Linked DNA regions of Homo sapiens: all the other regions are linked to region 3. The links are contacts of gene promoters, found by promoter capture Hi-C in blood cells and fetal thymus (Javierre and others, 2016). All regions are on one chromosome and are shown on one strand. Each heading gives the region's core, a stretch centred on a gene start or on the middle of the fragment in contact. The rest is flanking DNA. Distances are from core to core; before and after follow the strand shown.

The links. Contacts are between HindIII fragments. The CHiCAGO score rates a contact against its expected background, and 5 or more counts as called.
Region 1: a contact is called between a fragment that was not itself captured here and the fragment with the promoter of PLCH1 in region 3, in 1 of 17 cell types (megakaryocytes). The highest score is 10.0, in megakaryocytes.
Region 2: a fragment that was not itself captured here is called in contact with the fragment with the promoter of PLCH1 in region 3 in 2 of 17 cell types (megakaryocytes and fetal thymus); the score reaches 6.0 in megakaryocytes.

Annotation. Positions count from the first base shown.
Region 1 is chr3:155,360,294-155,363,697 of GRCh38, reverse strand. No RefSeq gene overlaps it. Among named protein-coding and RNA genes, the nearest start is that of STRIT1, 68 kb to the right of the region's middle. RefSeq lists enhancers at 1-219, 220-898. The HindIII fragment of the contact is 6,745 bases long and covers 1-3,404 here.
Region 2 is chr3:155,331,034-155,334,691 of GRCh38, reverse strand. No RefSeq gene overlaps it. Among named protein-coding and RNA genes, the nearest start is that of STRIT1, 39 kb to the right of the region's middle. The HindIII fragment of the contact is 8,170 bases long and covers 1-3,658 here.
Region 3 is chr3:155,743,502-155,746,718 of GRCh38, reverse strand. It overlaps PLCH1 (phospholipase C eta 1), which reads left to right and starts at 1,648. Exons shown (of 23, transcript NM_014996.4): 1 at 1,648-1,879. RefSeq lists enhancers at 1,686-1,895, 1,790-2,411. The HindIII fragment of the contact is 4,475 bases long and covers 826-3,217 here.

The DNA of each region.
Region 1 (3,404 bases), core at 261-2,760, 380 kb after region 3:
GGCATTGGAAAGTGGTTGACTTGTGGGTTGGTAAGAATTTACTGACAACGGTATGGGTTTGAAAACAGAAATATTTTTTAGAAAGAAGGAACGCTGCAGAAGAGTGCAGCGGGGGGCCTCAGCAAGAGAGGACTGAGCACAGCATGGTGGCTTTTTCTTTAGAGGTGTTTAGAGACCTTAAAGCGGAAGCTGAAGGGTAATTTGCATGATAAACGATTACATTTGTAGACATCTTGGTGCCTTAATGTCGGTAAGGATTGCACAATGAGTTTGGCAGTTCGGCATGCATGCATTCTGGAGGTGTATAGACATTCTAGTTTCCTGTAAATTTTAAGTTGAAAAGAGGCCTGGAACCAGGTGCTGACTTTAGATAATAGGGAAGTCTAATTACTTCTAAATTCCTCAAATAAGGAATTTTTCTTTTTGTCTCTTAATGGCCTGCTTGATGGTCACTAGGTGATCTTTGCTCTCCTTACTTATAAATGTTTCTTTTTACCTCCTGGGTTAAAGGACTTACATCTCTAAGGGACTGGTTCTCCGTCTGGGAATCAAACCTGGGCAGTGGATGTGAAAGCATGGAATCCTCGCCACTAGAATACAGGCTGGATTGCCCTTTTTGCATATCCCACAGGGAATCCAAAGCAGGCAGTGTGTGTATACACAGGGTTTTAACTTTGTTTTAAATCTGATTTCTGCCATTTTGGAATCTTGCCAATAGAATTTTAAAGGCTATATTTCTTTTGTATTTTTTCATAGATACCAATAAGATGGCTATTTAAGATAAGAGCTCTCTAAAAAGTTTTCTTTTAAATATAGTCCTTTTGTTTATTTCATAAGCGACTCAAGCCAACAGACATTTTTAATGGAAGGAACACCATGGACATAAGTGGCGTTTTAAAAATGGGTGCAGAAGATGCAGCATCATATGAAACCCTCAAAAATTTACTCCCAGAAATAAGTTAAATAACAAAAGACTCTCCTTCCACAGATGGTTAAGGATGATGTCTGTGCATATGTATGGTGCCTCTAGTATCCCACAAATTTGTGGGGGCTTGCCAGTCACAGGCTTGTTAATTTGTGACACTGGGTATACCCCCCTGGGATTGGACTTTCCCAGGCCTAATCAGGCAACAAGGATTGAGACAACAAAAGCCCCTCATGGGTGGGAATTCTTTCTTTTCTGAGACAGAGTCTCCCTCTGTCACCCAGGCTGGAGTGCAGTGGTGCAATCTCAGCTCACTGCAACCTCTGCCTCCTGGGTTCAAGCGATTCTCCTGCCTCTGCCTCCCAAGTAGCTGGGATTACAGGTGCATGCCACCACACCTGTCTAATTTTTGCATTTTTCATAGAGACAGGGTTTTGCCATGTTGGCCAGGCTGGTCTTGAACTCCTGATCTCAGGTGATCCACCCACCTAAGCCTCCCAAAGTGCTCGGATTACAGGCATGAGCCACTGCACCCAGCCTATGGATGGGAATTCTTATTAATACAAACTCCCCTGAGAGCTTGGCACATTCTGAACAAAGAGTGTGCTGCTTAATATCTTATGTGTCTAGAGATTCCCAGTCCTTTTGATATGGGGGGGTGCGGGCAGGGAAGTACTGGGTAGAGAAGTCTGGGTCCCTGGCCAGGGCTTCACCTCCAGCCTATGACCATGGGCCTAGATGAGGACAGGCATTTCTGTTTTCGTGCCCAAAAGTTGCATTTCCCAAGACCATCCTGGCCCACCATGTCCCCATCCTGTGCCTATAAAACCCCCAAGACCCTAACAGACATGCACACAAGCAGGTGGACGTCAAGAGGAACACACCAGTGGAAGAAGACACAAGTGGCTGGATATTGAGAGGAACGCACTGGTGAAAGAACACACCAACAGATGCCATCCAGCTGACAGGCCATCCACCAGTGCCGCAGAGTTTGGACAGGGCAGAAGGAGAGCCCAGCCACTGAGCAGCTTGACTCCAGGGCAAAACCATCTTCCTACTCCGTCTCCCTTCTAGCTCCCCCATTTACTGACTGCTATTTCCACTCAATAAAGTCTTGCATTGATTCTCCAAGCCCACGTGCGATCCAATTCTTCCAGTATGCCAAGGCAAGAAACCCCAGGATATGGAAAGCATTCTGTCCTTGCGATAAGGCAGGGGTTTAATTGAGCTGATCAACACAAGCCACCTATGGATGGCTAAACTGAAAGAGCACCCTGTAACACATGCCCACTGGGACTTCAGCGGTAAACATTCACCCCCAGCTGCTGCCATGGGGTCAGATCCCCATGATTGGCAAGTCTGCATACTCCTGCTAGAGGTTTGAGCAGTGGGGCACCAAAGAACTGAGCCACACACCCATCGCACACCATGCTAGGGGGATAAAGGAACTTTTCCTGTTTTACTTTCACATTGGCCACTGGCTGTGAATCAAAAGTTACACTCCTAGATGGTGGACACCAAAAGAGAGCGGTCCCATTCAGTCACAAGTTAAGGTCTCAAGGACATAATATTGGACAAGAGGTACTTTATGACAAATGACACAGAAAGACAGAGACAAAGGAAAAAAATAAAGACTATTTCTGGGAGGAAAGGATCAAACAATATGAATATTCATACCAAAACATACACCAGAGTCACTACACCTGAGACTAGTCTGTATAAATGATTTTCTCCTAATCTGGTTGTCCTGCCATGGTCACCAAAACTGTAGGATCCAAGGGAAAATTTCTCCTTCACCCTCTGAAGGTTTGCTGAAAATCAGCTGACAAAAGGGAAATGAATAGGAGAAAAGGCATGCGAAATTTATTAATATGTGCAAGAGTTGTACAAAATGTGAAAACTCAAAGAAAGAGCCAGATGGCTGACATTTTTATACCATTTTGAGGTTATAGTAAGAACAGGCATTTGGAGAATGGCAAGACAGGTTATGGGAGGTAGAGAGGAAGAAAGGCATGGGGCAAAGGTGGTATTATTAAGTGGATGAAAACCCACCTCTCAGAAAGAATAGACAGTGGTCTGTGATTGAGTTAATTTTTCCTAGATCCAGATAAGGGGGAGGGATTCAGAGAAAGCTAAGTTTTCTATATAATTAATGTAGATTTTTCTCTACGGATGCAAATCTTCTCCACAAAAGGCAGCTTTTCAGAGCTATTCCTGTCTGCAGGCCCTCTGAATAGCCTTCTCAAAATATTTCAAAGAAGTGTATTTTTAGGTAAAATATTTTTGATTTTCTTTACAAGTGTCTACCTGGAACACAAAAGCCAATTGTCGAAAACACTCTGTATTAGTGATGCAAAATTTCTGCAACAATACAGGATCATTGAAGGATGGATCTCAATGGATTTAAACAGAAAACATAATTGCTTTTAGTAGTGGCAAAAAATCAAAGCACTGTCACTACTCTCAGGGAGAGGGAAAA
Region 2 (3,658 bases), core at 1,102-3,601, 410 kb after region 3:
TTTGTTTACCACTTTTCAGGTTCCTTTTTGAGTTTCTTGTTTTAAGTGGCAGCTAGATCTTCTTCATCTTAATGTAATTAACATGGGAAGAGGCTTTGCATTTGTTCCTGTGAATTGCTAGGGATGTGTGTGCATCCTAGGCTGCCTGTGGGCTTCTGGCAAAACTCATTTTGTTTTTGATGGGCAGTGAACCAACATAAAAGCCTTATACCCTCAGCAGATAAAGATGATAATATTAGAAACTGAAGAGATTTGGGATTCTGAAAAACATCAATTGCTATTAGCTTGAGGGTAGCTCAGCTGCCTGGCTTCCAGGTTGCCAGTTAATATAAAAAAGATAGCATCTGCTGGATAATGAACACCTGTGACAATGATTGTGGTTCTCAGTCACTTGAAAAATAAATCATTTCAATGTGGGTCAGGTGTGGCCAGTGTCGAACTTCCATGGGCCAGATTATTTTCTGGTTCTGATGACATCCAGAATATCTGAAACTGTTCTTTCGAGGACTTATATGAGTGAGGCTACAACAGAGCTACTATCCACTTTCATCTTGTACCACCTACTGAACCAACCTACTGTCAGCTGCACCTAAGTGATTACCCACATGGCTGTAGGTTTGAGCTGAAATGGCATGGTGCTTGACAAGGGTGTCTGAGCTACCTGTTCAAGCACCTGCTTAGGGCCTCTGATCTTGTTCATTTCCTTTCCTTTATTTTTTTGAGCCAGAGTCTTGCTCTGTCACCCAGGCTGGAGTGCTGTGGTGCCATTTCAGCTCACTGCAGCCTCCGCCTCCCAGGTTCAAGTGATTCTCCTGCCTCAGCCTCCCAAGTAGCTGGGACTACAGGCATGTGCCATCATGCCCAGCTAATTTTTGTATTTTTAGTAGAGATGGGGTTTCACCATATTGGCCAAATTGGTCTTGAACTCCTGACCTCAAGTGATCCTCCCACCTCGGCCTCCCAAAGTGTTGAGATTATAGGCATGAGCCACTGCGCCCAGCCTTGTTCACTTTTAATGGCCCTCTGATCTTGTTTATTTTTATCTTTTGATGAATTGCTGCTGGGCGCACTGGACATTATGATTTGGTAGGTCTGATAGGATCAAGTTCATGCTGATACGTTTTGGATGCATGGGTGCTTGGTGTCCCATGGCCAAGAAATACTTCTCTTCTGGAGTTCAAGAACAAAGCAGGAGTTGTTTTTCAAAAGGTGTCTAATAATTCACTGCATATGGCCCGGCCCAGCTCCAGACCCTCAGTGCTTTACTGTCATTCTTCACTGGAGCTTACCACACATTACACATAGCATCTTTCTCGCTACTAGAATCTTGAACACTATAAGGATTTCTGGCTGAAGGCCCAAGTGTCAGGGCTACTTGCACCGCCACAGCCTGGAGCTCTTGCAGAGCTTTCTTCTTCCCCTGGCCTCACTCAAGTTCAGCAGCCTTTTGTGTCACCTGGTAGATAGGCTAGAGGAGTATTTTCAGGTGTGGAATATTCCACATTCAGAACTTTAGGGCATTGAGCTCCTTACTTCAGGATAGAAGGTGTGAGATGCAATAACTTGTCTTTTATTTGAAGATCTACTGGCATGCCCCTCACCACTGGACCCCCAAATGTTTTCTGATGTAGCCCTTTGAATCTTCATAAGTCTTATCTTCAACTCTCTTTAGTGCATGAGTCTTACTAAGACCTCCAGCCTGCTAGACTTCTTACTCATCCGGATAAATTAGCATAATGACATGTATGCAATGCGTCACTGTGATTCTCTGTTGGATGTCCAGGTGGTCCAGATGTCTTTGTAATATATTCCAGCCAGAAACACGGGAGTTAACGCAGCTCTGGGGCAAATTGTAAAAGTATAGTGCTGCCTGTTTCATGTGACTGCAAACTATTTTTGACACACTTTTCTGACTAGAATAGAAAAAAAAAACATATTTTACAAGTCAGTGGCTGCATACCTTTGTACCTGAGGCTGTATTAATCTGCTCTAGAAAAACACCATGCCTGGCACAGCAGATGCAACTGGGGCTACTACATGATTGTGTTTTCAATAGTCTATTCTAGAATCCATCTGGTTTCTTCAGGGACCACACTGGAAAATTAAATGAAGATAACACAAAGACTACCACCCCTGAATCCTTTAGATCCTTAAGGGTAGCATTGACTTTTGCCATCCCTCTGCCCTTAGTATATGATGTAACGTTTTTTAATTTGAGGGGAGCAGTTTCAGAGGCTTCAATCTGACCTTCCCCACCATGACACCCCTTACTCCACATGCCAAGGACGCAATGTTGACATTATAACCACTGACTATGAAATTGACTAAATACTCCTATCTCAGTTATAAATTCAGGGGCCGGGTAAATGCTCAGTTGGTGGGTTCCCAGACAAAATGGACTCTATGTATTTCTCATATCTCCTTCCCCTAAGGGAAGGCACCTCAGATCTTTGAGCATCAATCTCAACTAAGATTCTGTATCTAACAGTCCCTTTTGTTTAATCTGGGGAGAGGACACAGCCTGTGAACAGTTGTCTACCAGGAAATGCCTCACATAAAACAACAAAACAAAAATAAATAAATTATCACAAATTAAGAATATAGAGCAAATATCAACAGAATGGTACTGGCCAGGTGCGGTGGCTCATGCCTGTAATCCCAACACTTTGGGAGGCTGAGGCAGGCAGATCGCAAGGTTAGGAGTTCGAGACTAGCCTGGCCAATATGGTCAAACCCTGTCTCTACTAAAAATACAAAAATTAGCTGGGCGTGGTGGCAGGCCTGTAGTCCCAGCTACTTGGGAGGCTGAGGCAGGAGAATCACTTGAACCCAGGAGGGGGAGGTTGCAGTGAGCTGAGATGACGCCACTGCACTCCAGCCTGGGTGACAGAGTGAGACTCCGTCTCAAAAAAAAAAAAAAAGAAAAGAAAAAAAAGAGAATGGTACTGATGGTACTGATAGAGATGGGTACAAGAACTGGAAGGAGAACATCAGAGCTGAAGACTATTACCCTAAAATCTACATAAATACAGCATATTCCTGAAGTGGATTCTTTGAGGATTTACATGTAAAAAGAAATCTACTAATAATTAATAGTAGTACATTATTATTTTTATTTCTGAAACAAACAGTCCCAAGCTCCCTATCAAAAGAATCCCAGGTATTTCCATCAAAACAAACAAATAACTTATTGGAACTTAGCAATCTTGAATTGACAAGCACAGATCCAGGGGAATATGGCTATGAGCAGATGACAAGAAGGTATCATCTGTAGGGTTACTTTCATCCTTAAGCGTGTTACCCTTGACTGTTTTAATAAATATTTCCATGTAAGTTACAGAGCTTTGTGCTGTCTGGTTGGGACTTAAATTGGCTCTCTGAAAATGGAATATATGCCAATTCTCAGTGTTCTCATGGCTTACAAGTGAAACAGATGAACAATATTATGTGTCATGTTGATTTCTGTTTGATAATGATAAATGTTGGTGTTTCCTCAAAAATTAATTTGCTCCATATGTTGGTTTCTGAAAGACTGAAATAGTGGATCACTTTTGGAAATGGCATCGATAGCATTTTCTAATCTTCATATTGATTACCACCTTTGGTTGATATATATTACTAATGTTTGTATACACATGTGTATACATTATACATTTCA
Region 3 (3,217 bases), core at 399-2,898:
TTAATTTCTTATAAATTGAGGCTTGTGTATGGGCATGCAAAAAAACAAAAACAAAAACAAGTAAATTTGGGGAGGTTTCTTTCTATAGAGGCAAAGGACCTTACCTACATTTTTTCCAAATTGATTTCTTCCTGGTACTATTGGCAGGAAGAAATTCAAGTGGGTATTCTGGTGGCTTTTTTCTTTTTTCTGAGAGTCTAGGATTGTTTTCAGGACAAAGTTTCTTCTTGCCCATGGTGCTTTGCTGTGACATTGTAATTGCCTCTGTTGAATTGAATAATACAAATGGGTTGTTTCTATGGTATCGGCTAAGTGGGATGAAAAGGTGAAACCCTAGATCTTGCGCTGAGAGGTCACAGTGCTACCACCCTCCACACTGTCTGTCAAAGAGAACAGGCAGCCAAGGCCCTGAGCTCCAATCTCAGGCACTCATTTGTAACTTACTCGTTTGTAACTTCCTGGGCAAATTCACGCATGAAAAAAGAAAATGACTTTAGTTTATGTTGTCACTAAGCCCAGAAAATCCCTGCCAACCCCATGCTGCCAGCTTTCCTAGGACATTCTTATTGGAGGATTATTTTAAACTGAAAGGTGAGTGAAGAGCTGCGTCCCCACTCCTTCCCAGCCAGGCTTTGAACTAACAATAGGGCAGGTTGAATGAAGGCTGATAAATGTAAATCCTGGAATCCAGAAGCCGGATCACACCGCGGCCGTCTAGGCCAGCGGCGGTTCCAGCATCCGCCCCAAGCTGGTCACTCATCCTTTCAGTGCATTCAGTAGATTTCATCGTTTCATCAACACTTGAGTGCCTGCTTCGTGCAAGCTTTCCTCTGCCACCGCCGCCTTCTTACTCCCGGCAGGTTGCCCGCTTGAGTCAACCAGCCACTAAACGGATCTAAGTGAATAAGTGGCCTGTTAATGCCAAGGAGTAGCATTTCCAAATGAAGAGACTGGGGGTAAATAAAAGCAAAGTGTTACCATTTACACGCTCTCAATTTTAGTTGCACTTCACTCAGAGTAGATCTCTTTAATTTGCGGCATCGACAGATGCTATATTCTTAGAAATTTTTTTTTTTTAAAGGAGGTAAGACGGGCGTTTGAGAACACTTTTTACTTTGGTGCAAGTTGCACGCAGTTCCCATTCACTCAGAGTAGATCTCTTTAATTTGCGGCATCGACAGATGCTATATTCTTAGAAATTTTTTTTTTTTAAAGGAGGTAAGACGGACGTTTGAGAACACTTTTCACTTTGGTGCAAGTTGCACGCAGTTCCCATTCCCTGCGCCCTTCACTTCCAACTTTGTTTCTCCAACTCCTTTACCCCCCACCACCGAGGCCCTCTGGCTACAGCCCCGAGGGGTTACCCTGGGTTTCGAAACTTTTGAAACTTGCGGGGGAGTAAAAGTACTTCATTCCCAGTGCTTCTGGCCCTTGCCAAGCGGGGAGCCCCGCAGGAGAGTGTAAGCCAAGGGTTCCAGGTGCAGCCTTGGGGTTCCACGTGCAGCCCTAGGGTTCCGTACACCCATCCCGCCCGGGCCAGAGGAGGCAGCAGGCGCTCCAGTCCGCTCTCCGCAACTCCAGTTCCTGATTTCCTCGGAAGCTGCGGGGCCGAGAGGGAGGGGGGCTCCTGTGTGAGCGTGAGGATTTGAATGAGAAAGCAGGTTGTGGCGGCGGCGCCCTGCTCTTCCCCGCTCGTCTGGGGCTTCTGCTGGCTAGTGGGGAGAAGTGCTCTTCTAGGGGGGCTTTTCTGGCCCTTGGCAGGGGTTTGGAGTTGGAGTCACAGGGGCCAATAACTCATCACCCCAGCACTTCGGAGGTGGCTCCTTGTGCCACGGACTCCGAGGAGTCCTTCAGCTACTGAACACTCAAAGCTGAGGAGGTCAGTGCTTTCGGGGGAAGAAGGGGCCCAGGAGAGAAGGGGGTGTGCAGGAAAAAGAGAACTGGTACGCCAGTCCGATGAGCGAGTGAGCAGGTGGCCCAAGTTCCTTTCTCGGCAGCCACAGCCGGCACACGCCTGTTTAGGACTGTGAGTGCTGTGCGTGGGGATCCCCTAAGGCCCCGTGCGGGGAACTGGCCACGGCCGCTCTTCAGGGTCCCATAATTCAGAAGGATGAGGGTGGGTGTGTGTGTCCGCGAAATAATGTAACTCTCGGGTCCCTTGCGGTGGTGGTGGGTGGCGTTTCGCCCGGTGGAAGGTCCAGCCTCGCTGCAGGATGCTTCACCCTCACGCGGGGTCCCGGGACCCTCTCTCTGACCGCCAGACGCCGCCAGGAGAGCAGGTCCGCGTTTCCCAGCAAGGGGAGTGCAGCGTCCGTTACACTTGGGGAGTCTCACAGCTTTTCCTGCGCCCGGTGACCCTGCTCAGGACCTCTTAGAGACTAGGTGTGCTCAGCGCGAGGAGGATATACTCCATTGCCCTTTCCTGGGAAGAACCAAGAGCGCCCGAGCGGCGCGGGGTGGTGGAGGCAAACCCCGGCCCCGCGGCGGCACGCTCTGCGCCTGCGCGGCGTTTCCTTGGCGACTGAGCTGCGGGTCCGAGACGCCACCCCGCGAGCCCCTAAACCCAGTTCCCTGTTGAGCGTCTGCGACGCCCTCTCCCCTCCTTCCCGAGGCTTTTTCTATTTGTTTCCTTCTGCGAATCAATTTGTGATCACATTTTGACGTTGAGAGTTCAGCATTAAAGCAATAACCAACTAAATTAAAAAAAAAAACCCAACTTTTCCCTTCCCTTGTTACCGTTTTGATCACGGACAGAAGAAAATGGTGAGAGATTAGTTATTAGGGCAGCAATTGAAATCCCCCTCTGTCCCGAAAAGGGGAGACGAATAAAACATTTACTTCCTGGTAAGGAGTTAGAAAATTCAGTGAAGTGATTGTTCTCGAGCGTTACAAGAACAAATCTGTGCCTCCTAACCCAGGTGAAGAGCAGAGCTTGTACAACCCAGCAGCACCCATGTCCTGTTTATTGGCATGTTTATGACAAGGAGATGCTCTGCAAAAGGGACCAGAGTATAATGCCAATGAAAAGAAACAAAGGATTTCCCAGAAGAGGCGGTAGTTTTTTTCAGTTGCCTCAGCGTTTTGGTCACCTTTGGGGTTAAAGTCTTCTGCAGAGAATGCTTCAAGAAGCCTTAACAGAAGCCAGTTTTCTCAAGCTGGTCATTTTCTTTTTCTTTTTTTCTTTTTTGAGACGGAGTCTGGCTCTGTCGCCCAGGCT